Linked DNA regions of Homo sapiens: regions 1 and 3 are each linked to region 2. Evidence: promoter capture Hi-C in human tissues and cell types (Jung and others, 2019). All regions are on one chromosome and are shown on one strand. Each heading gives the region's core, a stretch centred on a gene start or on the middle of the fragment in contact. The rest is flanking DNA. Distances are from core to core; before and after follow the strand shown. Region 1 overlaps DRC1 (dynein regulatory complex subunit 1). Region 2 holds the start of HADHA (hydroxyacyl-CoA dehydrogenase trifunctional multienzyme complex subunit alpha). Region 3 has its middle 12 kb from the start of RAB10.

What was found. Contacts are between HindIII fragments. The study calls those that stand out against the background at their distance.
Region 1: a contact is called between a fragment that was not itself captured here and the fragment with the promoter of HADHA in region 2, in 1 of the 25 tissues and cell types used here (spleen).
Region 3: a contact is called between a fragment that was not itself captured here and the fragment with the promoter of HADHA in region 2, in 2 of the 25 tissues and cell types used here (adrenal gland and spleen).

What each region holds. Positions count from the first base shown.
Region 1 is chr2:26,406,603-26,410,962 of GRCh38, reverse strand. The region is part of intron 1 of DRC1 (dynein regulatory complex subunit 1); the gene reads right to left. Among named protein-coding and RNA genes, the nearest start is that of DRC1, 6.9 kb to the right of the region's middle. The HindIII fragment of the contact is 4,264 bases long and covers 1-3,866 here.
Region 2 is chr2:26,243,091-26,247,404 of GRCh38, reverse strand. HADHA (hydroxyacyl-CoA dehydrogenase trifunctional multienzyme complex subunit alpha) reads left to right here and starts at 2,773. Exons shown (of 20, transcript NM_000182.5): 1 at 2,773-2,875. The coding sequence starts at 2,809. It overlaps HADHB (hydroxyacyl-CoA dehydrogenase trifunctional multienzyme complex subunit beta), which reads right to left and starts at 2,466. Exons shown (of 16, transcript NM_000183.3): 1 at 2,415-2,466. RefSeq lists enhancers at 711-1,438, 2,297-2,396, 2,251-2,931. The HindIII fragment of the contact is 15,994 bases long and covers 1-4,314 here.
Region 3 is chr2:26,019,480-26,023,996 of GRCh38, reverse strand. No RefSeq gene overlaps it. Among named protein-coding and RNA genes, the nearest start is that of RAB10, 12 kb to the left of the region's middle. The HindIII fragment of the contact is 6,969 bases long and covers 1-4,517 here.

The DNA of each region.
Region 1 (4,360 bases), core at 485-2,984, 160 kb before region 2:
ACTTTCCTTCACTGCTTCCTTCCAGTGTTGCTAACTGAGAAACCTGAAGTCATTCTGTCTTTATGCCTTTCTTTGTATGTGACCATATTTTTGTTTTTTATATGTGACCATGTTTTTGTTTTGTTTTGTTTTGTTGTGTTTTGTTTTGTTTCACTCTGGAAGCTCGTAGGCCCTTTCTCTTTATTCTCAGTGTTCTGAACTTTCTCAATGGTGTGCCTTAGGGTGGGTCTATTTTCATCCATTGTGCTAGACATTTCAATCAGGAACCTCATGATCTTCAGGTCTGAGACATGTTCTTGAATTCTTTCCATGATAATATGCTCCCTGCTCCATTCTTTCTGGATCTAGAAAAGTGATAATATCTTCTAATTAAAAAAAAATATTTTTCTCTGGCTGGGTGCAGTGGCTCATGCCTGTAATCCCAGCACTTTGGGAGGCCAAGGCGGGTGGATCACCTGAGGTAAAGAGTTCGAGACCAGCCTGGCCAACATGGTGAAACCCTGTCTCTACTAAAAATACAAAAATTAGCCGGGCATAGTGGCAGGTGTCTGTAATCCCAGCTATTTGGGAGGCCAAGGCAGGAGAATTGCTTGAACCCAGGAGGCAGAGGTTGCAGTGAGCCGAGATCATGCCATTGCACTCCAGCCTGGGCAACAAGAGTGAAACTCCGTATCAAAATTAATAATAATAATAATAATAATAATAATAATAATAATATTTTCTCTATAAGTTTCTACCTTTTTTCTTTGCGCTCTATTTTCTAGGTGATTTCATCATCTTTATTTTCCAACCCTTCTAATGTTTTCTATTTCTATAATTTTTTTATTTCTAAGAGCTCTATTTTTTTTCTCTGAACACTCCTTTTAGTAGCATTCTATTCTTGTTTCGTGGTTGCCATATCATCTCTTTTTTCTTTGAGGATCTTTTTTTTCCCTCTTTTTCCCCCAAAGACTTCAAAACTCTCTCTGAGGATCTGAATGATCATCTTTTTGTGGTATTCTTGTTTTTTTCTCCCCACATATAGTCTTAATGTCCTCTTAGGTGCTTTTTTCTCTTTGTTAATTTTCATATCTACCATTCATGTTAAAGACTTTCCTCAGATGCCTAGAAATCCTCAGTTACTGACTCATGACAAGAACTAAAAAGCCTATGAAAAAATTAAAACATGGGTTAAAAATAAATAAACACTGTTTTACGTGGAAAAAATCAAGCTAATGATAAAACAACTCTTATGAGGTAGCTTTTAAAGCTGTTTTCACTTATATCATGTAATTTTAGAACTTTGAGTTCCATTATTCTAGTTGTTGCTGAATGTGTCTATTGCTCTTATTTTCAAAATGTTCTCCAAATTCTTGCCTATCTTGTCTGAGATGTACCAAAGACCTAAAGCTATAAGTATAATGGTAACTTCCATGACAACTTGGGAAAAGGATACTAATACTACCAATTTTACATGTCACCATCTTCACAGTAGCTACCTAGTTGTTGTTAAAGAAACAGCTGCCTTTAAAAAAAAACTACATAAAGGATGGTTTGTTTTGGTTATGTGTACATAAACACACCTGATTATACAGAATCCAAGAATTTAGAGAAAATAAGGACAAATTAGTATCATTTCAATCTAAGTCCCTAGCCATTTGGAAGCTTGTAATATGGTGTCAGGATAAAGCAGAAAAAATAAATTTTAATAGTGTGACAAATAAAAATTTAAACATTAAAAACAAGCTGATGGGGCTGAGCACAGTGGCTCATGCCTGTAATCCCAGCACTATGGGAGGCCAGGGCAGGAGGACCACTTGACCCAGGAGTTTAAGACTAGCCTGGGCAACATAGCAGGACTCCATCTCTAAAAAAAAAAAAAAAATTAGCCGGGCATGGTGGCCTGCACCTGTAGTGCCAGACACTCAGGAGGCTGAGGCAGGAGGACTGCTTGAGCCCAGGATTCAAGGTTATACTAAGCTATGATCAAACCACTGCACTCCAGCCTGGGCAATGGAGTGAGACTCTGTTGCTTAAAAAATAAATAAATAAATAATAAAAATAAATTTTTTTTAAAGCTGACGGGAGCTGTGAGTACAAGGGTGTGGCTTAACAACTGTGCATGTCAGCGTGGGCTGATTTAATCGGGCTGCTTTGTGAGCAAACCCGATGTTAGTGTCTTTATTATTTTTATTTTATTTTATTTTATTTTTGAGACAGAGTCTCCCTCTGTCACCCAGGCTGGAGTGTAGTGGCACGATCTCGGCTCACTGCAACCTCCGCCTCCCAGGTTCAAGCAATTCTCGTGCCTCAGCCTCCCAAGTAGCTGGGATTACAGGCATGCACCACCACGCCGCTAATTTTCATATTTTTAGTAGAGACGGGGTTTTACCATGTTGGCCAGGCTGGTCTCAAACTCCAGACCTCAGGTTATCCACCCCTCTTGGCCTCCCAAAGTGCTGGATTACAGGCATGAGCCACTGTGCCCAGACCAACATTAGTGTCTTTAAATCCTTCTTTTGGGGCTGGTCGGATTCCACAGAGAAACTTCTCCAGCCTCCTGCCTGGAATATGAAGGCTGAAGTGCCACCATTCCAGGAACTGGTGAGAGGAGAGCTGGAAGGTCCTGGCATCCACTGTGCATATTTTCCCTGAATCCCCTTATTTTCCATGAAGTATCCTTGCCTCGCCTCTGTCTAGCATCCCCCAAGCCCTAGATCCTCCGCTTGACTTTCTCCAAACCTCCAATCTTCTGTGCAAAGAGAGAGAAAGGTTCTAGGCATCTACCTATTAATTTTCCAATCGGTTGTCCTTATTTTGGTTCCCTTTGTCACCTCCACTTCTAGATGTCAACTGAAAAAGAGTCAGAATCCACAAAATCAAAAGAGAACTTTATTTCTAAAGGACACAACCTGCAGGCAGGAAGCAAGCTTTCAACTGAGACTGAGAAGCAGGCTTTGAAGGGGAGAAAATAAGGCAGATATTTCTGCTAGGTGAGGAGGTAGGAAACGCATATTCTACAGGATATAGGAGAAGGTTGTGAATATTTACGGAGAAAACTCATTACGCACGTGCATTAGGCTTACATGTGCACGGAACATACAACAATATGCTACTCATGTTCACTTTGGGGTGGAGATTTAACATTTAAATGTACTACAATTGGGTCATAAATGCAAAAAGGTGATGCTTAGGGCACAAGTCCAGGATCTGTGCAGTCTCAGGGAACCGGTCCAAACTGGCCTGAAGTTGGCAGTCGTCCAGGAAGAGGTCTCTGTGGTCCAGGGTTGTTGTCAGGTTGGAACCATAAACATGAGGAGGAGGGTGCCGGGTGGTCGGACGAAGTAAGCCAAGGAGTCTTCTGGCCTTTTGTCATCTTCAGGTCAGCCTTTGATAAGACCTCATAATAATTAGTAAAGGGACGGGGGTAGCAGGAAGTGGACATGTCCAGTCTCCTGTCACTGCTAAGGGCTAAGAACTTTGAGGTCTCTCGGCCACAGAGGTCCTGTCACTCCATTGGAAGGGCCATAGGATTTTTTAAATCCTCACGGATGAATATGATATGCCATCAGTCTCCTAGTCTTTGGGGATTTAGTGCAGAGTAAATCAAGGGGGTTCTCAGCTTTCTTCACTATCAGCTTATTTTTCCATCTTCTTGAATCTGCTCACCCATTTACCATCTATCTTGTGCTTCCCAGCATCCACAATTTCATTGCTGTTGAGTCCTCCTGATCTTGACTTTGTGGATTTGCGTCTTTTTTACTTAATCCCCTTAAATATCATTTTAATGGAGTTAAAATGATAGAGATCTAAGGTAGATGTATGTGTTCCATCTCGCATCTTTACCCAGAAGTGACATCTCCCGGCTGGGTGTGGTGGCTCACACCTATAATCCCAGCACTTTTCGAGGCTAAGGTGGCAGGATCACTTGAGCTCTGGAGTTCAAGACCAGTCTGGGCAACATGGTGAAACCCCATCTCTACCAAAAATACAAAAAATTAGCGGGGTATGGTGGTGTGCACCTGTGGTCCCAGCTACTCGAGAGGCTGGGGTGGGGGGGATCACTTGAGTCTAGCTGGTGGAAGTTGCAGTGAGCCAAGGTCACACCACTGCATTCCAACCCGGGTGACAGAGTGAGACCCTGTCTCAAAAAAAAAAAAAAAAAAAAAAGGAAAGTGACATCTCCCAGAAATGTCAAACCTAAACTAAGACACCAGAGATTGGGAGTATCAGGGCCATTAGCACATTATTCCTATTCTTTTTGGTTTTTTTGAGAAGGAGTCTCGTTCTGTCATCCAGGCTGGAGTACAGTGGCTCGATCTTGGCTCACTGTAACCTCCACCTCCCGGTGTTCAAGCAATTCTCATGCCTCAGTCTCCTG
Region 2 (4,314 bases), core at 1,524-4,023:
ATATGTATTCCTTCAATAGTTAATAAAAAATAGAGATTTCAAAAGTAAGAGGGACTAAGCAAATTATCCTATAGCAGAGCTGACCTTTCTGTCATTTGCTAAACTTCAGAAAACAGAAATTTTGGTAAAAATATTCAAAGCATGGAAACTCCAGGGTAGGGTAGGGTAGGATCGAGTTGGTTAGGGTAAGCCTGAGTAAGGTGTGAACTATGGAAAGATACACGAAGCTGCAGGCACCTGGGAGCAAGGGAAAGGAAGAAGAGTCTAGGCAAGTAATGAAAACAAAAGCAAGATGGGGTGGCTCTAACAGCTCATTATTACAACTTTGAAACACAACGTAATGGTTAAGAGAACTAAAGCCAGACTATGTCCAAATCCTGATTCACCCTAGCTGTATGACTTTAAGCCAGTTACTTAACCACATAGGACGCGCACGCGCACACACACACACGCACGCACACCCACGTGCACACACCACTTAAAACAGTGCTTGATACACAGTTAGGGGTATACCTGTGTTTGCTATTACCAGTAGAGATGGTGATACAAATGTACTGTTTCCCTCTATATAAACCATTGGACTAAAGTGCTTAGGGATCAAAGAAACATTATAACATTTCTGCCCTGATGGAGCTTAGTTTTGTAGAGAAAGCACAGGGAGCAAAAAAATGGAGCCAAATGAGTGATCTAAATCAGGGATTGGCAAACTACAACACACGGGCCTCTAGCTAAAAATAGTTTTTCACATTTTTAAAGAGTTGTAAGGTCGGGCGTGGTGGCTCACACTTGTAATCCCAGCACTTTGGGGGGCAGAGGTGGGCGAATCACCTAAGGTCAGGAGTTCGGGACCAGGCTGGCTAACATGGTGAAACCCCGTCTCTACTAAAAATACAAAAAATTAGCCCGGCGTGGTGGTGTGCGCTTGTAATCCCAGCTACTCGGGAGCCTGAGGCAGGAGAATCACTTGAACCCGGGAGGAGGCTGCAGTGAGCCAAGATCGCGCCACTGCACTCCAGCCTGGACAACAAGAGCAAAACTGTCTCAAAAAAAAAAAAAAGTTGTAAACAAAACAAAACAAAAGAAACAATATATAACAGAGACCAAAGTGATCCTGCAAATCCTGAACTATTTACTGTCTGGACCTTTAACAACAACAACAAAATTTACCACTTCTGACCTAAATAATAAGTGTTACACGCAGTTAGGTGTTGAAGAAAGCATTACATGGGCAGGAGGCAGGCTCTGAACTGTAAAAACCTTGTAAGATTATCAAGAATCCTTTTTGCAATTTATTCAGAAGTGGTCAGGTCATCCAGTTTCTGCTTAAAGTGCTCACATGATGAGCACTCACTATGCAACTTGAGCTTTAAACAGAAACCTCTCTACTCTGTCTCTATACTCATTTCAGTCTTAACTTCGATGCCCCTTGTTTCCTGTCCTGCAGAGCTGTCAGTCTGGCGAGTAGTGAGACTCAGACTTATGTCTGAATGCTAGGTCTGTCACAGACTAGAAAATGTATATATTCTGAGCTTCCCAAACTTCATCTAGAAAATGCAAATGATAATAATTTGGGGAATGTGAGGACTAAACAAAAAGGTATGAAGGTGACCAGAGCACAGCAGGCTCTCAATGTGACTTCCTTTTGAAATCAATCACTTTATTCCAGGACTCCAGCCCATCATTCCAGCACAAAAACAGCTACCATGCAATGAAGAACTCTTCACTAGGAGTTAGTAGACTTAGGCTCCAGTCTTATTTCTACTACATATGGCCATGGGTAAAATCACTCTCTCTGATTCGTAGGCAGTTTCTTCACCGCTTAAGTGAGCTGAGGTGTGAACGACCAGATAGATAATCATCCAGATCGGAAAACCCCCGAGAGCGCAGGATTATCTGGATAACGGAGCCGGATGGAGGATTGTCTCCGTTCCTCCCACACTCAAGCCCCGAAAGGTCACCTGACCTAGTCTTATTCTTTACAGCAGAAATCGGGCAAACCCATGGCGCCGTCCACAATCTCTATAGCCGCCGACCTGGGTACAGGGGAAGCAGGCGAAACAACACACACTTCTACGCAGACCAGGGTTACATTAAGGCCGACGCCCACACACGCCCACACACACCCACACACACACACACACCCCCACACCCCCAGACTTCGTTAACTTGTGATGATAAATTAGGGCGCAGGTGACACTACTGTCCCGAACTTCAGCTGGAACGCTAGTCCAAGTCACTGTCCTAACTGCAGCTAGCACTGCCGACCTTGTCCGAGGAGTTTCCTTCCGCTCCCTCAACTCCCACTTTCCCAGGGAGGGGAGGGGGCCGGGGGCACCGGCGACAGTTGCGGGGAAGGAAGTGGAATCTCGCCTTTGGGAAAGCCCGGGCGGAGAGCTGAGGGCTCGCCGTCTCACCTTGGCTGACGTCCGCGAGGACTCCCTCTCGGAGCAAGGTTCAGGTCCAAGTACCAAGGCTCTGCGGGACCAAGGGGCGGGTCCTGCCCAGAAAGGGCCCCTCACCCCGCGGGCGGTCAGGGCCGTTCTTGAGGGCTGCCCTCCGGCCGCCTGACTGGAAAACCAGGCACTCCACCCCCTCCTCTCCGGGCCCCCGTCCTCCCCCGGAGAATACGACCTTTCGGCCATGTTAGCCAGGAGCGAGGGGCAGGGCTAAGGGGCCGGCGGCCACTCGGCATCTGGGTTTTAGTCAGGCAGTGCTCCAGGCGCCTGGCTGCCAGGCTACGGGAGAAAAGTCCTCCGCTCGGCCGCACCCGTTAGAGGCGCTCTCCACTGCTGTCCTCTTCAGCTCAAGATGGTGGCCTGCCGGGCGATTGGCATCCTCAGCCGCTTTTCTGCCTTCAGGATCCTCCGCTCCCGAGGTGAGGCCTGGCCGAGGGCATCCCAGACCTCCGGGCAGAACTCCTGCCGGGACTGGGGTGGCCCCGGAGCCGCGTCTCCCTTTCGCTGCCGCCTGCCCCAGCCCGGAGACGCAGCCCTCTGTGGGGATACTGCCCTGGGACCCGGTTTCCCGTGACCTTCTGAAGAGACTGTCACTTCCCCTCTCACGACTCCTGCGGCGATTTCAGGCTTCCTAACTCCCCAACTTTCTGAGTCTGGTGCCACTCGTTCTGTCACCTTTCCGCGGGTCTCTTGCGTCGCACTTCTGGGCTCACGCCCCTCATATTTTCTTGATCCGGAGTTCCAGGAGAATCGGGATCCATTCTGTCGCATCTTTGTGGCTCCACAGCACCTTGCCCCGCAACAAGAGCTGTCTTAAAAACAGCACCTTACCCCGCAACAAGCGCTGTCTTGTATGGGATTAATCAGCCTTGCAGATCACTGCCCCTCCCTGCTCCGTTCCCTCAAAACCATTTTTGTGCTTACTACCCCAATCAAGTAGGGAGCTCAACTCTTGCAGTTTCAGTAATGTCAGTGTGAACGTATAGTATTTTGAATTTCAGCGGGAAGTTCTGCAACTTACTGGAAGACACACTTTAAAAATACGCTAATACCTCTACCTTAAGCAATAAAATGTTAGATCGTTCTGAGAACGATTTGTAATCTGATGATTCCCAGTCAGCCTGTATTAGCTAGTGTTTTTCCTTTTCAAACTGGCAGTGAAAGGGTTAAAGTGGGTGGTTGTAGGAAACGTTGCATTTTCTTTCCATCCCAAATCTGTAAAGTCAAAAGTGGACAACGTTTTATTGCATGTTGTGCTTAATAAGTTACTTAACTAGAAATTTTAACTTTTAATTTAATTTGTAATATGAATTACCTCTCTTCCCTCTTCCGGAACCGCTGAAGTAGTATGCTTTTTTTAGACAAGTAGCTGAAATCCCTTACTGTAAGGGGATTTTTTTAATGATTGAATATTTTTCTGCTCCCTTTTTTCAACAGCTGTTTTTAGTCTCCACAAAACTGTAGCATGTATTTGCCAATTATAACATAAGCACATTATAGAACATTGAAATGCTGTAAGGATTGAGGAAAGAGATGAAAAAAAAACGAATCACCCATTGTCTTACTACTCATATGCTTACCTACGGTTAGCCTTCGGTTATGTTTCCTTACAGGTTTGGTGGTTTTTTTCCCCTATTTTCACAACACTTTTGAAAAGTAACGTGTAATTTTTATCTTACCCCTGCATTGGTTTGAAGGTATTTCTTATGGATCGGCAGCTGATGTCACTCGGAAGTGGTAGCCAGGGCACGTGGTTCTAGTCACTAGCTGTGTTACTTTGGACAAATGCCTTAAACTAAATGGGCTTTATTTTCCTCATCTGCAAAATGAATGATTGAGATGATGGATTTCCTTTGCA
Region 3 (4,517 bases), core at 1,509-4,008, 220 kb after region 2:
ATGGTAAAACCCCGTATCTACTAAAAATAAAAAAAAAAAATTAGCCAGGCGTGGTGGTGTAGGCCTGTAATCCCAGCTACTCGGGAGACTGAGGCAGGAGAATCGCTTGAACCCAGGAGGCAGAGGTTGCAGTGAGCTGAGATCATGCCACTGCACTCCAGCCTGGGTGACAGAGCAAGACTCCCGCTCAAAAAAAATATAAAAATAAAAATAACAAATTGGCAAACAAGCTAAGCAAAGAACAATGATACAGGCATGCAATGTGAAATAAGCACATAAGCAAAGAACAATGCTTTTCTAGTTCCTCACAGAAACATGCCTAAGTTCTGGTGATCACCGCAGGCCTTACCCATGGCCTATCCCACATTCATAGGGAGAAAACTGGTCTAATGAGGTCAGAGTTGGGACTAGCTTTTTTTTTTTTTTTTTTTGAGACGAATTCTCGGTCTTATTCTCCAGGCTGGAGTGCAGTGGCATGACCTCGGCTCACTGCAACCTCCGCCTCCCAGGTTCAAGTGATTCTCCTGCCTCAGCCTCCCGAGGAGCTGGGATTACAGGTGCATGCCACCACACCTGGCTAATTTTTGTATTTTTAGTAGAGATGGGGTTTCACCATGTTGGCCAGGCTGGTCTCAAACTCCTGACCTCAGGCGATCCACCCACCTTGGCCTCCCGAAGTGCTGGGATTACAGGCGTGAGCCACCGCACCCAGCCTGGGACTAGCTTTTTTTTGTAGGATTAACCACAGGAGGAGGCCAGGTCAGCATTCAAGGGCCTACCGTATACCATATAAGAAAGTTTCTTGTATTATTGGGCCGATAGCAGGCTTGCCCGTGGCCTATCCCACATGCACTATTAAGCCCCTAACTAGCTACACCTTCAGCAACATAGTGAACTGAAACAAAGGAAACAGAAAATGAATTATAGGCTGGGCGTGGTGGTCACACCTGTAATCCCAGCACTTTGGGAGGCCTAGGCAGGCAGATCACGAGGTCAGGAGTTTGAGACTGGCCTGTCCAACATGGTGAAACCCTGTCTCTACTAAAAATACAAAAATTAGCCAGATGTGGTGGCAGGCGCCTGTAATCGCAGCTACTCGGGAGACTGAGACAGAATTGCTTGCACCTGGGAGGTGGAGGTTGCAGTAAGCCGAGATCATACCACTGCACTCCAGCGTGAGTGACAGAGCAAGACTCTATCTCATTAAAAAAAAAAAAAGATTTATAATACAATGCCATTCAGGTAAATTACAAACAACAACTTTCTTTTATGAGGTTTCACACATGTTTAATAACATACATCAAACATATTACACATGAAACCTATGGAAGAAGAAGGCAATGAGAGGGAAGAAGGGGGAAAAATAGGCTGGGTACAGTGGCTCACGCCTGTAATCCCAGCACTTTGGGAGGCCGAGGCGGGCTGATTACCTGATGTCAGGAGTTCAAGACCAGCCTGGCCAACATGATGAAACCCCGTCTCTACAAAAATACAAAAATTAGCTGGGCATGATGGCAGGTGCCTGTAATCCTAGCTACTCGGGAGGCTGAGGCAGGAGAATTGCTTGAATCTGGGAGGTGAAGGTTGCATTGAGCCGAGATCGTGCCATTGCATTCCAGCCTGGGCGACAGAGCGAGACTCTGTCTCAAAAAAAAAAAAGAAGGGGGAAAAATATAAAATGAGTAGGACCTTGCACAGACCACATAGTCAGTGGTCAATGTGCTAGAAAGTGAGGAATGTGATTAACTCAGTGCTCAGCATCCCAGATCTAAATTTTTAAACAAATTGAGAAGATCAAATTGCACATGGAGGTAGATGACATTGATATTGATACTCTTTATAGTTATCATTTGCAGAAAAATATCAAAATGAGAAGAAAAACCCTAAATATTTGGTTTGGATCAATACAAAAAATATAGATTCTGGCTGTTTCTTTTATGCCTAACTGCCACATAGCATAACAATAGTCATGCAAATTTAAAAATGTGACAGATTTATTTCATCATATGAACTTGGCCATGGACTTTATGGAATTGTCAGTTTCTGAAGCTTGGTGCTCAACTCTCAGCTGTCAGCTCTTTCCCCTCCCTGTCTGGTGCTAGCTGTTTGGAAAAATCCAGTTATTTGCAAGCTACCTCACCTTTTTCCTGGAGCCAGAGAAAGAGTAGAAGTATAGGTTATCAAAAGCCCTTACACACCTGCTAATTGAGTCAGTCACTGTCAAGACAATATCTAAAAGCAGCCATCTCTGTTGGCCAAAATACCTCCAAGAAAAATAACTTAGGGGCCGGGCGCAGTGGCTCACACCTGTAATCCCAGCACTTTGGGAGGCCAAGGTGGGCGGATCACGAGGTCAGAAGATCGAGACCATCCTGGCCAACATGGTGAAACCCTGTCTCTACTAAAAATACAAAAAATTAGCCGGGCATGGTGGTGTGCGCCTGTAGTCTCAGCTACTGCAGAGGCTGAGGCAGGAGAATCGCTTGAATCTGGGAGGTGGAGGTTGCAGTGAGCTGAGATCGCGCCACTGCACTCCAGCCTGGGTGACAGAGCAAGATTCTGTCTCAAAAAATAATAATAATAACTTAAAGGAGTATAATTTTACTGTTTGTAACTCAAAGGATAAATGCTTGGGGGGATGGATACCCCATTTTCCATGATGTGCTTCTTTCACATTTCATGTCTGTATCAAAACACCTCATGTACCCAATAAATATATACACCTACTATGTACCCACAAACATTGAAAATAAAAATAAAAGAAAAAATACTCCCAAGAGGAAGCCAGACTTTTGCCCATGTAGCTTATGCATTCAGGGTTCCACTACCTTTTGCCCTCCCTCAGGGCACTGGTGTCCACAGGGCAAACCTGCCCTGTGTCCTTGAAGGCCAAATAGGGATGCTATTTCTTTCTTTCTTTTTTTTTTTTTTCTTTTTTTGAGATGGAGTCTTACCCAGTCGCCCAGGCTGGAGGGCAGTGGCACAATCTCAGCTCACTGCAACCTCCACCTCCCGGGTTCGAGTCATTCTTCTGCCTCAGCCTCCTGAGTAGCTGGGATTACAGGTGTACAGCTACACAAAGAAGCAGGCACAGTGAGGGCGACTGAGAGCAGTAGCACTTGGTTTCTGGGCCACCTCTGGACCCCAGAGCTGGATGGGATCCCAAGTCCAGTGCTGGCCACCATGGTGCTATAGGCTACAGAATCTCTTTGGGGTCCGGCAGGGGCAGTGATGGACTCACTGCTTGGCCTAACAGACTGAATCTGTGGCCTGTTGCTTTCCCCAGATCCCTGAGCCTGTTTCTCTAGCCTTCCCAGTAATTCTGAGAGCTTCCCAATAGCCTTTCAGTAAATGTATGTTCTGCTTCTAAATGCCAAATATCAGTTTCTGTTGCAACCAAAACCCGTGACTGATACACTTGTTTCTGGTAAAATTCCCAGGATGACTCCAGCTCTACCTGACATTTGTGCACGTCCACTTCCTCTTTCCCACCTTCTGCTGACCTTGCCACTTGAATGTGCTGCACCTCTGCTGAAACTTGGCTCCTGCCTGCCCTCCAAGGCTGCTGCAGCCTCGGTTCCTCTTTCCTGGGTCTCCACTGCCTCTTTCTAGCCCCCTCTACCCCAGGTTCAGGTGACCTGTGCTCCCAGCCCATCCTGAGGCCTAGACAGGTTGGGCAGTCATCCTAACCCTGTCATGATGTCAGCAGTGGGCCTCGTGCTGGCAGGGCAGAGTCCTCAGATGCTGGAAGGGAGGGTCACCAGGAGGAAAGAGGGACACAGGCAAAGAGATAGGAAAGTTGCAGAGGCTCCCTTTTTTGTTTGTTTGCTTGTTTGTTTGTTTGCTTGTTTTGAGACTCAGTCTTGCTCTGTCCAGGCTGGAGTGCAGTGGCACCATCTTGGCCCACTGCAACCTCTGCCTCCTGGGTTCAAGCTGATTCTCCTGCCTCAGCCTCCCGTGTAGCTGGGATTACAGGTGTGTGCCATCACACCCAGCTAATTTCTTTTTAGGCGGGTCTCACTCTGTCACCCAGGCTGGAATACAATAGCTCAATCATAACTAACTGTGGCCTCAAACTCCTGTGCTCAAGTGATCATCCTGCCTCAGCCTCCCAAGTAGCTGAGATTACAGGTGTGAGTCACTACACCCAGCTAATTTTTTTTTTTTTTAAGTGGAGATGGGGTCTCACTATGTTTCCCAGGCTGGTCTTGAACTCCTGGCCTCAAGCAGTCCTCCTGCCTCAGCCTCCCAAAGTTCTGGAATTAGAGGCGTGAGCCACCATGCCTGGGGTATTTTTATATTTTATCTAACAACATGAGTTTTCATTTATGGAGTTCCTGCATTGTTCTGGCCCTTTAGAGGCATGACTTCACAATAATACATTGATGTAGGAACTATGATCATCCCCATTTTCAGATGAAGAAACAAGTGTTTAAATAGGTTAAAAGAGGCCGGGCATGGTGTCTCACACCTGTAATCCCAGCACTTTGGAAGACCAAATCTGGCACATTGCTTGA